3 separate regions of the Homo sapiens genome follow, and regions 2 and 3 are each linked to region 1. The links are contacts of gene promoters, found by promoter capture Hi-C in human tissues and cell types (Jung and others, 2019). All regions are on one chromosome and are shown on one strand. Each heading gives the region's core, a stretch centred on a gene start or on the middle of the fragment in contact. The rest is flanking DNA. Distances are from core to core; before and after follow the strand shown.

The links. Contacts are between HindIII fragments. The study calls those that stand out against the background at their distance.
Region 2: a fragment that was not itself captured here is called in contact with the fragment with the promoter of ZNF768 in region 1 in 1 of the 25 tissues and cell types used here (pancreas).
Region 3: a fragment that was not itself captured here is called in contact with the fragment with the promoter of ZNF768 in region 1 in 1 of the 25 tissues and cell types used here (dorsolateral prefrontal cortex).

What each region holds. Positions count from the first base shown.
Region 1 is chr16:30,524,317-30,528,692 of GRCh38, forward strand. It overlaps ZNF768 (zinc finger protein 768), which reads right to left and starts at 2,250. Exons shown (of 2, transcript NM_024671.4): 1 at 2,010-2,250; 2 at 1-1,735. The coding sequence starts at 2,097. The coding sequence ends at 201. RefSeq lists enhancers at 1,696-1,755, 3,336-3,635 and silencers at 1,956-2,005, 2,026-2,345, 2,436-3,265. The HindIII fragment of the contact is 23,531 bases long and covers 1-4,376 here.
Region 2 is chr16:30,938,972-30,943,347 of GRCh38, forward strand. It overlaps FBXL19 (F-box and leucine rich repeat protein 19), which reads left to right. Exons shown (of 11, transcript NM_001382779.1): 8 at 3,145-3,308; 9 at 3,404-3,565. Among named protein-coding and RNA genes, the nearest start is that of ORAI3, 7.9 kb to the right of the region's middle. RefSeq lists a silencer at 3,039-3,168 and an enhancer at 3,593-4,376. The HindIII fragment of the contact is 5,049 bases long and covers 131-4,376 here.
Region 3 is chr16:30,114,950-30,119,325 of GRCh38, forward strand. MAPK3 (mitogen-activated protein kinase 3) reads right to left here. Exons shown (of 9, transcript NM_002746.3): 3 at 3,400-3,589; 4 at 3,098-3,214; 5 at 2,721-2,835; 6 at 2,205-2,336; 7 at 1,945-2,054; 8 at 1,687-1,841. The coding sequence ends at 1,719. Among named protein-coding and RNA genes, the nearest start is that of GDPD3, 3.6 kb to the left of the region's middle. The HindIII fragment of the contact is 2,432 bases long and covers 1,106-3,537 here.

The DNA of each region.
Region 1 (4,376 bases), core at 1,000-3,499:
CGCTGCCGGCCTGGCCTCCCTCCAACCCACTTCCCACAAGTCTCCAGGGCATGTCACTTCCTCCACCCTGGTTCTCTTCTTCCAGCATCCTCAGCTCCTCCATTCTCCTGCGGCTTCTCCACTATCCTCCCTAAAGGTTCCTCTAGCTCCCTGGCCCCTTATCTTCTGCCCACACCTCCCACCCCTGCTGGGGCCCCAGGTCAGCGCCGGCCCGCCGCGTGGGTCCGCTGGTGGCGGATGAGGTCGGAGCTCTGGGAGAAGGCCTTTCCGCAGTCATCGCACTTGTAAGGCCGCTCGCCACTGTGGACCCGGTGATGCTGCAGAAGCGTGGAGGAGCGGCAGAAGCCCTTGCCGCACACGGCGCACCTGTAGGGCCGCTCGCCCGTGTGGGAGCGCTGGTGCTGGATGAGAGTGGAGGAGCGATTGAAGGTCTTGCCGCAGTCGGGGCAGCTGTAGGTGCGGCCTGGCAGGTGGGTGCGGGCGTGGATGGCCAGCACCGAGCTCTGGCCAAAGCGCTTGCCGCACTCAGGGCACTTGAAGGGCTTCTCCCGGGCGTGGCTGCGGGCATGGGGGATAAGGGCCGACCGCTGGGAGAAGCTCTTGCCGCAGATGCCACAGCTGAAGGGCCTCTGACCGGTGTGCACCCTCTGATGGCTGCGCAGGGACGAGTTCTGGCTATAGCACTTGCCGCACTCGGTGCAGCTGTAGGGCCGCTCGTGGCTGTGGGTGCGCTGGTGTCGCAGGAGGTAGGAGCTGTCGCCGAAGGCCTTGCCACAATGTGGGCACTTGTAGGGCTTCTGGCCAGAGTGAGTGCGCTGGTGGCGAAGCAGGTAAGAGCTGTCGGCGAAGGCCTTGCCGCAACGGGGACATTTGTAGGGCCGCTCGCCAGTGTGGGTGCGCTGGTGTTTGATGAGGTCAGAGCTCTGGGAGAAGGCCTTGCTGCAGACCTCACATTTGTAGGGCTTCTCACCGGTGTGGATGCGCTGGTGCTGGATCAGGGTGGAGCCCCGCCCGAAGCTCTTCCCGCAGATGCCACAGATGTTAGGCCGAGGGCCCTGCCCACCCCTGGCCCGGCCACCCCGCCGACCTGGACCTCGAAGGGCTCCTGTGAGACCCAGGGGATTCTGAAGCATCTCAAACTGCGGTGTAGACAGCAGGGCCCCTGTGGGCATCTCAAAAGGTGGCCCTATGGGCAGGTCCCCTGTGGGCTGCTCCCCAAACCCCTGAGTGAAGGAGTCCAGGGGGTGAACTCCTACGGAGATATTCAAAGGACTCTTTTCCTCGGGGTTCAGAAGCATCTCCGCACCTTCCTGGAATTTGGAACTTTGAGCTTCAAATTCTGGGCTTTGGGTTTTGAGCTCAGTGTTCTGGGATTCATATCTAGAGCTCTCAGATTCATAGCCAGGGCTCCGGGGTTCATACCCGGGGCTCCGAGGTTCATAGCCAGGGCTTTGGGGTTCATACCTAGGGCTCTGGGATTCAAACTCAGGGCTCTGAGAATCTGATTCAGGGCTTCTGGGTGCAAACTCAGGGCTTGGGGGCACAAGCCCAGGGCTTCGGGACTCAAACCCCGGGCTTTCAGGCTCAAATCTGGGGCTTTGGGGTTCAAACTCTGGGCTTTGTGGCTCAAACCCAGGGCTCTGGGGTTCAAGCCCAAATGGTATCTCTTCGACTTCATAGTCCCCACTGCCTTCTTGCTGAGAAATTTCCTCTTCCTCATTCTCACTCATGTTGCCTGCAGGATGAGAGAATCCAGATCGTGTGAGACCTGGAAGGTCATTTGGTCCATTAGCAACCACACACCTCCCACCTCACATGCAGGGTCGCTGGCCCCTAGACAAGTGCTGAAATTCCCACGCCCCCCTCAGCTGACCCAAGACACCCCAGTCCCCGCCGGCCCCTCCTTCGAGTCCCAGGTGTCCCAGCCCCGGGCCCTCGCTCCCTCCCTGGAGCCACAGCCCCTTCTCCTGCGCGCAAGTCCACTCCTCGGACGGGCGCTCCCTCCTCACCTCTGAGGTACCCTTCGGGGCTCCTCATTTCGTCAGAACTCTGCACATCCTGGGGCTCGAGGCCCCACGGCAACGCCTCCCGCTCCATCCCCGCGGGCTCCCAGTGCAGCGGCGGCGGCGATGGCGGCCGATCCCGCGACCCGGCCTCGGTTGCCCCGAGCCGCGGGCCCCCGCCTCCCGCCCGCTCAGCGCCGCCCAGGGGACTCGGCGGCCCAGCCCGGGCCCCCGAGGCCGGACGTCTTGACCCCGCGCCTCTCCAGCGCGCCGGGCCCCTCCCCTGCCCGCGGCCCCGCCCCCTCCCAAGGTCTCGGCCTCCCCGTGGCCCTCACTGGCCCCCGCGCGTCGCGGCCTCGGGGATGAGGGGCTTCGCGACTACCCCGGCGGCCCCCGGCCCCCGCTCCCGCCCGAGCCCCCACCTTCTGGACCCCGGCCCCGGGCTGGGCTGCACTGTCCAACGGCCGCCCAGCACCCCCCCACCCTCCCCCGCACAGGAAGTGTCCGTCCGCGGCCAGGTCCCCCCGCCGGCTCGCGCCGCGGCCTCTCTAGGAGCCGCTGGAGGTGGAAACTCGTTGGCATTAACCCTGGGCTGGAGGGGCCCGGCCACGGGGTGGGTGAGGACCGGACGCCCCGGAGCCCGCGGGGCTACCGGGGCAGTGTGTGTGCCTATGTTCTAGGTCTCCGTCCCTCCAGAGGCCCGTCTGTCCATCTCCCGGGCCCCGCGTCGTCGGTGCGTGTGGCCAAGGGCGAGGCGACAAGCGAGACCAAGGTCAGCGAGAAGGAGCGACGCTTCCCGGCGCCAGCGGGGGCGGTGTCTCGCTCCCTCCCCTCCCGGGCCTCCGGGTCAGCTCCGGCAGCGCCTCGGGAACCGGGACGGACTCCCCTTGGCCTCGCCGAGGTCCTTGAGCCTGGGACCCCCTCCAGGAACTCCGCTCCCCGGCACCTGCGCGCGCCCGCTCCCGTTCCTCCGGCCCCCACCCAGCTCGGCTCCCCTGATCCTCCTCCTCCCTCCTCCCTCCTCGAGGGCTAGGATAGTTGCCAAGGAGACAGCCCCGCCCCGGCTCCCAGAGGCACAGCTTCTCCGCCCCAGGAAGCCCGGCGGTTGGCCGATGGGGCTCGTGCTCTAGCCGCCCCGCCTCCTCCAACCCCGCGGACGGCTGGGCGTTAATGGTCGCCAGGGAACGCCAGGCGCCTTCCTGATTGGCCGGGAGTGCTGTGGTCGGGTCCGCCTCCCCTGTCGGCCAGAAGCGCCTTCAGGAGGTAGTGGGAGGGAGGTGCCAGGCATCTCCCCTCCAGCCCGGCCTGTGCCATCAAAACTTTTCCCGCCCCCACTTAGCCTCCATTATGTTTTATGAAAGCCAGAAGATCTGAGGACAGACACCCTTCCTCCTCGTCAGCCTCACACCCCTTGCCTCTCCCCTCCACCTTCCCCAGCGCCTGAGTTTAACTCAATCCCTGGCAGCCTTAGTCCCTGTTGTTAGATTTCCTCACAGGGAGGCAGGATTCCTTCCAGGTGAGGGTGATACAAAGGAGAATTGGACTGAGAGAACCATCTGGCCTTCGAGGCATCTAACAACTCTCCAGTCTTGTCTGACTCGAATGGAGTCTTGCAGAGGAAGGGAACCTGAGAAACACTGCCTCGGGCGCAGCTTTGAATTGAGGAAGTGAGCCTGGACAGACAACTTAATATCATCCAGTTCTTGTCTTTTTTTTCTACGCTTCGTGCTGAAACAAGTTTGGCAGCGTTCTTGACAGTTAACGAGCCCGATGCCCCTGTGTGAGCAGGAGCCATGGATCGTGTTTTCTTGTCGCCTACCCAGACAAATGAAGGGAAGAGAATGTTTGGGAGGAAGGATGGCCTCTCCTTCCTGAAAAGAGGTGAGAACAAGAACTTGAAGAATGCCAAGTGGTAAAAAGTGGAGAGAAACTATCTAAATAAAGGCTTACAGGTGGGGCGCACTGGCTCATGTCTGTAATCCCAGCACTTTTGGGAGGCCAAGGCAGGTGGATCACGAGGTCAGGAGTTCAAGACCAGCCTGGCCAAGATGGTGAAACCCCGTCTCTACTAAAAAAATACAAAAATTAGCCAGGCACGGTGGTGGGCACCTGTAATCCCAGCTACTTGGGAGGCTGAGGCAGGAGAATCACTTGAACCCGGGAGGCGGAGGTTGCAGTAAGCCGAGATCTCGCCACTGCACTCTAGTCTGGGTGACAGAGCAAGACTCCGTCTCAAATAATAATAATAAAGGCTTACAAATAAAATCACAAGAGCTTATGCCACGAATGAAGCGGGGAAAACTTTCTGCCCTCCAGAGAAACAGCTTCCAGCCCCATAGCTCTCTCCCATCCCAATGTATGTTTGTCTTGAAA
Region 2 (4,376 bases), core at 1,405-3,904, 420 kb after region 1:
TATCTCCCTGTTTAACAAAAGTAGTCTTCAGGTAGTAGCCTAAAGCCACAGCAACACCTGGCTAGGATTTAATAACTCTGGTCTTTTTTGTGTTTTATTTATTTATTTATTTATTTTTGAGACAGAGTCTCGCTCTGTCACCCAGGCTGGAGTGCAGTGGCGCAATCTCGGCTTACTGCAAGCTCCGCCTCCCAGGTTCATGCCATTCTCCTGCCTTAGCCTCCCAAGTAGCTGGGACTACAGGTGCCCGCCACCACGCCCGGCTAATTTTTTGTATTTTTAGTAGAGATGGGGTTTCACCGTGTTAGCCAGGATGGTCTCAATCTCCTGACCTCGTGATCTGTCCACCTTGGCCTCCCAAAGTGCTGGGATTACACCACACTTGGACTTTTGTGTTTATTTTTAAGATTAACATATTTATGTGAAACAATACTGGGGTTTTTTTTTTTGTTTTTTTTTTGAGACGGAGTCTCGCTCTGTCGCCCAGGCTGGAGTGCAGTGGCACGATCTCGGCTCACTGCAAGCTCCACCTCCCAGATTCACGCCATTCTCCTGCCTCAGCCTCCCGAGTATCTGGGACTACAGGCGCCCTCCACCACGCCCAGCTAATTTTTTGTATTTTTTTTTTAGTAGAGACGGGGTTTCACTGTGTTAGCCTGGATGGTCTTGATCTCCTGACCTAGTGATCCACCCACCTCGGCCTCCCAAAGTGCTGGGATTACACGCATGAGCCACCGCGCCCGGCAACAATACTGGTTTTAAGTGCAAAGAGGAGATGATTCAAAGATAAATCATGTTACGCAGATAAGTGAACAGCAAATACTGGAGCTTGGGAATCACTGCCCCAGCCCAGGGCTTCTACAAGGAAAAGCCTTTCAGAGTCATGAGGGCAGGGAGGGAGGCAAGAGAAAGCTTCCCTTGGGAGGCCAAGGGAAGGATCGCTTGAGCTCAGGAGTTCAAAACCAGCCTGGACAACCTTGTCTCTACTAAAAATAAAAAAATAGGCCAGGCACAGTGGCTCACGCCTGTAATCCCAGCACTATGGGAGGCCAAAGTGGGCAGATCACCTGAGGTCAGGATTTCGAGACCAGCCTGGCCAACATGGAGAAACCCTATCTCTACTAAAAATACAAAAAATTAGCCGGGCGTGGTGGCGCATGCCTGTAATCCCAGCTACTCTGGAGGCTGAGGCGGGAGAATCGCTTGAACTTGGGAGATGGTGGTTTCAGTGAGCCAAGATCACACCATTGCACTCCAGCCTGGGCAACAAGAGCGAAACTCTGTCTCAAAAAAAAAAAAAAAGTCAGGTGTGGTGGCATGTGCCTGTAGTCCCAGCTACTCAGGAGGCTGAGGTAGGAGGATGGCTTGAGCCCAGGAGTTTAAGGTTGCAGTGAGCTGTGATCGCAGTACTGCACCCCAGCCTGGGTGACTAAGCAAGACACTGTCTCAAGAAAAAAAAAAAAAAGCTTCCTGGGCCTGCTGCTTCTGACACAGTCTATTGAGTCTCAGAGGCATTTCTGGACATGCCTTTGAGAACTACTGAACTCAGAGAAGAGAGTTCTCAAACTGAGTCCAAAGGAACTTCAGTGTACTACAAAATGTTACTAGATTACCTTGGGAGAGGTGGGGAAGGATTCCTGGGGAAGTACGTTTGAGAGGCCCTTCTCCAGTTCACTGCATGTTTTTTGTTTGTTTGTTTGTTTGTTTGTTTTTGAGATGGAGTCTCTCACTGTTGCCCCAGCTGGTGTGCAGTGGTGCGATCTCGGCTCGCTGCAATCTCCGCCTCCCGGGTTCAAGTAATTCTCCTGCCTCAGCCTCCCGAGTAGCTAGGATTACAGGCGCCCGCCACCATGCCCAGCTAATTTTTTGTACTTTTAGTAGAGACAGGGTTTCACTAGTAGAACAGCCAGGCTGTTCTCGAATTCCTGACCTCATGATCCACCCACCTCGGCCTCCCAAAGTGCTGGGATTACAGGTGTGAGCCACTGCACCCAGCCCACTGCATGTTAGATAGTCTGTTGAGGCCTGTGGAGTGCTCGGGTTAGGAAACCTGTTTAATGTTGCTTAGGACTCGTTCATCTTTGTAGCTTCAATACTTGGGACCTATAACGCTTTCTATAATCAGAGTGAATAAATGAAATGCTGTAGATGAGGAGGTGGGGGAGAGTGGTCAGTGGAAGCTTTAAGTAGTTACTAGCTTGATTCATTCATTACAAATGGGCAGCTGGGTGCAGTAGCTCATGCCTGTAATCCCAGTGTTTTGGGAGGCCAAGGCAGGAGGATCGCTTGAGGCCAGGAGATCAAGACCAGCCTAGGCAACATAGTGAGACCCTGTCTCTACAAAAAAATTGTTTAAAAATTAGCCAGGCGTGGTGACATGTGCCTGTGGTCCCAGCTACTCAGGAGGCTGAGGTGGGAGGATTGCTTGAGCCCAGTAGGTTGAGGCTGCGGTGAGCCTGAGTCCAGCCTGGGTTACAGAGTGAGACCCTGTCTCAAAAAAAATTTTTTTTCAAAAAGTGGAAAACGCAAATCTGCCCTTGTGGAATTTACATTGTAGTTGGAGGAACACAGTAATGTAATAGGGAAGATATTAGGGCTGTAAGTCCAGCTGCGGGCAGCTGGCTGTCAAGATGGGACAGGTGTGGATCAGAAGCAGAGATGAGTAAAGGAGGCAAGGACCCATGAGCACCAGAACTCAGTCAGGAATCAAGAAGCCCAAGGGTGGCTGGAGACGACTGGATAACACCAGTCCCCTTGGCATGACATCAGGCAGCATGCGTGGCATTTGTGTATGTGTTGGGCAGCACACTTTCTATGCTGGGAGGCCCACAGCTGGGATGAGCCCATGTGACCTGACAGCTGCCCTGTGGGCAGGCAGAGTGGGGGGGCTATTGCCTTCAATCATAAACGAGGCTTCTGAGGCTCAGGGAGAGGAACAGACTTGCCCAGGGTCTCATTTCCAGTTAGTGATGGAGTTGGGTTCCAATCCCAGTGCTCTTGGCTGAGGTCAGGTGCTTCTTGCTACCCTGTTGTCTGTGTGGCCAGAAGAGAGCTGGGGTGCACCCTTGGAGCTGGGGAGCCTGGGAACTGTGGGCTGCTGAGAGCTGAGGGCTGAGGTCTCTGTCTCCCCCCTATGGCCGCCAGGTGCTATGACAAGCGTCTGTGGCCTCGAATGGACCTGAGCCGGCGGAAGTCACTGACCCCGCCCATGCTCAGTGGTGTGGTTCGCCGCCAGCCCCGTGCCCTGGACCTCAGCTGGACAGGTGTCTCCAAGAAGCAGCTCATGTGGCTTCTGAACCGACTACAAGGTAGGGTGTGTGGTACGGAGGACAGGGTGGGGACAGGGACAGGCCTGGGATGGAGTCCTCACAGCACCTGCTTCCTGACTGCCCCCTCTCCGCAGGCCTGCAGGAGCTGGTGCTCTCTGGCTGCTCCTGGCTCTCTGTCTCTGCCCTGGGCTCAGCCCCACTGCCAGCCCTGCGGCTCCTGGACCTCCGCTGGATCGAGGATGTTAAAGACTCCCAGCTCCGGGAGTTGCTGCTGCCTCCACCAGACACCAAACCAGGTGCAACCTCTGTTTGCTTTTCTGGAGAATGGGCTGGGCAAGGGTAGGGTAGGAGGCCTCTCAGGTCTCTTCTGACTCATGCTGGATGGTAAAGTATTTGAAGAAAGGAAAGAATACATGAGTTTGAATAGGAAGGCCCTGGTTGGGCATTATTCATTCATTCACCCACCTGCTGTGTACTTTGAACTGAGTCTTGAAAGGAACAGGGTTTTCCCAGGGAGTGTGAGACTCAGCAGTTTGGTGGGGCAGGAGGCCCATATTGGCAGAGGGGGATGCTGGGAGCAGAGGCCATCTCTCTTCATCTACTTAAATCTCATCATCCTTTAGGCCTGGGTATAAATGCCACTTCCTCCAAGAAGCTCTCCCTGATCCCACCCCACATTGAGCTCAGAGTCCCTCTCAGCTTTGAGAGCAGCCCGCCAGCATAATACTGGGCAATTGTGGAGTGCCTTGATGCACATCTGTGCCCTCCTGCCAGGGTCTCCAGCTCCCTGAGGGCAAGCGCTGGCTGGTCCCCCAGCACGTTCTCAGTGGCTGCTCCATAGATAGCTGTTGAATGAATAACTTGAATGAGCAATCAGGATGGGAGAGGTCTAGTTTGAGGAAAGATTTTCAAAAGGAGATTTGCAGTCCCCTGAAATAAGATAATCCTTTTGTTTGTTTTTGTTTTTTGAGACCATCTGGCTCTGTCACCCAGACTGGAGTGCAGTGGCAAGATCTCGGCTTACTGCAACTTATGCCTCCTGGGTTCAAGTGATCCTCCCCACCTCAGCCTCCTGAGTAGCTGGGCCTACAGGCGTGTGCCACCACG
Region 3 (4,376 bases), core at 1,072-3,571, 410 kb before region 1:
TGTCTCGGCCGGGCACAGTGGCTCACGCCTATAATCCCAGCACTTTGAGAAGCTGAGGTGGTGGATCGCTTGAGCCCAGGAGTTTGAGACTGGCCTGGGCAACATAGCAAGACCCCAGCTCCACAAAAAAAAAAAAAAAAAATTAGCCGGTTGCAATGGCTCGTCCAGCTAGCTGGGAGGATCCCTTGCACCCAGGAGTTTTGAGGCTGCAGTGAGCTATGATTGCACCACTGCATTCCAGCCTGGGTGACAGAGCGAGACACTGTCTCAAAAAAACAAAACCAAAAAAAAAGATAAATAGATTGACTCCGGAAACTGAGGCGCCGAGAGGTGAGGTGCCTTGCCCAATATCACACAGCACTTACTAAGTGGCACAGCTGGAGTTTGAGCCCAGGTGCGCATGCCTTCTTTCTATCAGGCCACACCTGGCTGAAGACAGGAAGAGACCGGAGGAGGCAAGGAGGCAGCGTGGGTGGGGGCAGGCCAGTGGGGTCCCCACAGCTATGTGAACTGCTGATCTGGCAGCAGGTGTGAGGAGGCCTGGCAATCTGGGTCAGGCTGGGCGCTGCTGGGCCCCTCCCAAAGCAATCATGGCCCCACCTGCTTCTGCCACACCCAGAGCTGAAGCTTGGCTCAGGTCCTCACCTGGGTGACAGAGGCCCTCAGTGACCTCTTGCCTCTTTGCCAGTTCTGTTCCTAGAAGGAGATTAGAATGGCTTGTGGGGCTGGAGGATGCAAGGTGTTGACAGGCAGAGACATTTGGGGCTGGAGGACTCGGTGGGCCACCAGTCTGGGCAGCCTTGGGCATTTTTTTTTTTTTTTTTGAGATGGAGTCTTGCTCTGTAGTCCAGGCTGGAGTGCAGTGGTGCGATCTCGGCTCACTGCAACCTCTGCCTCCTGGGTTCAAGCAATTCTCCTGCCTCAGCCTCCTGAGTAGCTGGGATTATAGGCATGTGCCACCACACCCAGCTCATTTTTGTATTCTTTACAGTAGAGACCGGGTTTCACCATGTTGGCCAGGCTGGTCTCAACTCTTGACCTTGTGATCCACCCACCTCGGCCTCCCAAAGTGCTGGGATTACAGGCATGAGCCACTGTGCCCAGCCCTTTTTTTTTTTTTTTTGAGAGAGTCTCACTGTTGCCCAGGCTGGAGTACAGTGGTGCAACCTCCGCCTCCCAGGTTCAAGCAGTCCTCCCACCACAGCCTCCTGAGTAGCTGGGACTAGAAGCGCATGCCTACGTGCCCGGCTAATTTTTGTATTTTTAGTAGAGACAGGGTTTCACCACGTTGGCCAGGCAGGCTGGTCTCGGACTCCTGACCTCAGGTGATCCACTTGCCTCAGCCTCCCAAAGTGCTGGGATTACCAGAGTGACCCACTGTGCCCGGCTAATTTTTGTATTTTTAGTATAGATGGGATTTCACCATGCAGGCCAGGCTGGTCTCAAACTCCTGACCCTCAGGTGATCCACTCCTCTCAGTCTCAGTCTCCCAAAGTGCTGGGATTCCAGGCATGAGCCACCACACCCAGCCCCCTGGGCACTTCTGTTGTCACCAGACACATTGACCATGGGTGTGGGGTAAGCTTGCTGCTGTATGGAGGCATGTACAGATAGATATAGATATAGATATACAGATATAGATATTTAGTATCAGGGTGTCCATGTGTGGGCCATGGAGACACTCACCAGGCCCCAGGGTGCAGAGATGTCTGTCTGGGCTAGGGGGCCTCCAGCACTCCGGGCTGGAAGCGTGCTGTCTCCTGGAAGATGAGCTCCTTCAGCCGCTCCTTAGGTAGGTCATCCAGCTCCATGGCGAAGGTGAAGGGCTCCTCGGCCACTGGCTGGGGTGGTAGAGACAGCAAGGCTCAGGCCTGGCATGGGGGATGCCTACGTGCCCCCCTGCTCCCCTGCCCCCAGCCCCACTGCTGCTGGGGACTGGCCCACCTCATCCGTCGGGTCATAGTACTGCTCCAGGTAGGGGTGAGCCAGCGCTTCCTCCACTGTGATCCGTTTATTGGGGTTAAAGGTTAACATCCGGTCCAGCAGGTCAAGGGCTATGGAAGGGCAGGAGTCAGGGGTCACAGGGAAGACTGGAGGAGCTCCGAGAAGCATTGCTTTGCCTGTCTCCTCCAGCGGCTGCTGGGCTCACACACCCTCCACGACACCCAAGGTTTATCCCACACCCACCCTCATGTCTCTCGAACCTTTGGAGTCTGACTTGGGGAAAAGCTTGGCCCAAGCCACCTTGGTCTTGGAGGGCAGAGACTGTAGGTAGTTTCGGGCCTTCATGTTGATGATACAATTCAGGTCCTCCTGGGATGGGGAGCCCAGGATGCCTGTGGATAAGGAGGTGACTTGGTAAATGATCACCTCTTTCTTTCTGGGAACAGAATAGGCAACAAGGCAAGAACAAGACCCCCCAGCCCAGCAACCCATGCCAATCCCTCAGTCACCTCCTAGTCATTAGCATGGTGGTGCAGAGCAAGGGGGCTGGGTTCAGGCAGACCGAGGCTCAAATCCTAGGTCTGGTGCCTCCTCAGGTGTGGGACTTAGCCTTGCTTTTCCCATCTATCCAATGGGGATAATATCTATACCTCATTGAGATACCATGAGATGCTGGAGGCACCCCACACGTGGTGGTATCCCTGACTTGGACTCTCGAGAAATCTCACCTCGGAAAAGCTAATCATCCCCAACTCAGCCAGCCGGGCCTCCCTCACCCAGAATGTGGTTGAGCTGATCCAGGTAGTGCTTGCCAGGGAAGATGGGCCGGTTAGAGAGCATCTCAGCCAGAATGCAGCCCACAGACCAGATGTCGATGGACTTGGTATAGCCCTGGGGGAGAGGAGGAAGTGGTGAGCTCCTGGGCCAGCCTCAACAGGGTCCTGTTGTCTGCGCCAGGCCACCACCTCCAAGTTAGATCCAACACCAGGCAGAAGGCAGAGGCCTGGAGGGCTCAATGCTCAGCTTCCTTGCAGAGCCCAAGGCCCAGAGGGTAGAATTCCTGTGTCATGGGGGTCAGTGTCTGGCTCAGAGGTAGCTCCAGGGCTTCCTGGGAACTGGTCCGTTCCTTTCAGGAGTGGGCAGCCCCTCCTACCTTGGAGTTCAGCATGATCTCTGGGGCCCGGTACCAGCGCGTAGCCACATACTCCGTCAGGAAGCCGGTGTGGTCATGCTCAGGATCGGCAATCCGGGCCAGGCCGAAATCACAAATCTGGAATCAGACCTAGCTGCTAAGCTCGGCGCTCAAGGCCTCTGCAGCCTAAGCAGTCACGCCCCCTTGTCTTTGCCTCCACTGTTCCCTTTGCTTGCAATGTTCTCCTGCCCAAGGCTTCTTCTACTGGTCACTGGAAGCCCCAGACCCTGGGGGAGGAGGGGACAGGTGCCCAACCCTCTGACCTTAAGGTCGCAGGTGGTGTTGATGAGCAGGTTGGAGGGCTTTAGATCTCGGTGGAGCACGTTGGCGGAGTGGATGTACTTGAGGCCCCGCAGGATCTGGTAGAGGAAGTAGCAGATATGGTCATTGCTCAGCTGCTGGCTTTTCAGCAACTTGTACAGGTCAGTCTCCATCAGGTCCTGCACAATGTAGCTGAGGATGGTTCCGCAGACCCCCCCAGGCAGGGGGCAGTGGGAGGCACTTGGTTAAGGAAAACAGGCTCTGAAGGCGAGGCTGCACACCTCCTCCAGCCAGGGCCCCTGGGACTCAATAGATCTGCCAACCTGCACCACCAGCTGGGGAAGCTGCTGCCATTACCCAGCGGCAGGGCTCTGAGCCTCTGTTGCATCACAGTTGCTGATCCTGAGCAAGGGGCTTCATTTCTGAGGCCTCAGTTTCCCTACCGGGGAAACGGGGATAATAATAAACTGTGGGAGGCAGGAGAACTTCACAGTTAAGAGCAGCAACTTGGGCCAGGAGTGGTGGCTCACACCTGTAATCCCAGCACTTTGGGAGGCTGAGGCGGGAGGACTGCTTGAGGCCAGGAGTTTGAGACCACCAGCCTGGGCAACATGGCAAAACCCTGTCTCTACTAAAAATAGCAAAATTAACTGGGCACGGCGGCATGTGCCTGTAATCCCAGCTACTCAGGAGGCTGCAGCACGAGAATCACTTGAACCCAGGAGGCAGATGTTGCAGTGAGCCAAGATTGTGTCACTGCACTGCAGCCCGGATGACAGAGTGAGACTCTGTCTCAAAAATAAATAAATTAAAAAAAAAAAAAAACCTACAAAAAGAGCAGCAACTCTGGAGTTAACCCATGGATGTCTGAAATCTCCTCTCTACTACTCACTGGCTTTAGGATCTCAACCTGTCTGTGCCTCAACTTTCTCATCTGGTATGTAGGGGAAATAATGTTTTTTTGTTTGTTTGTTTGTTT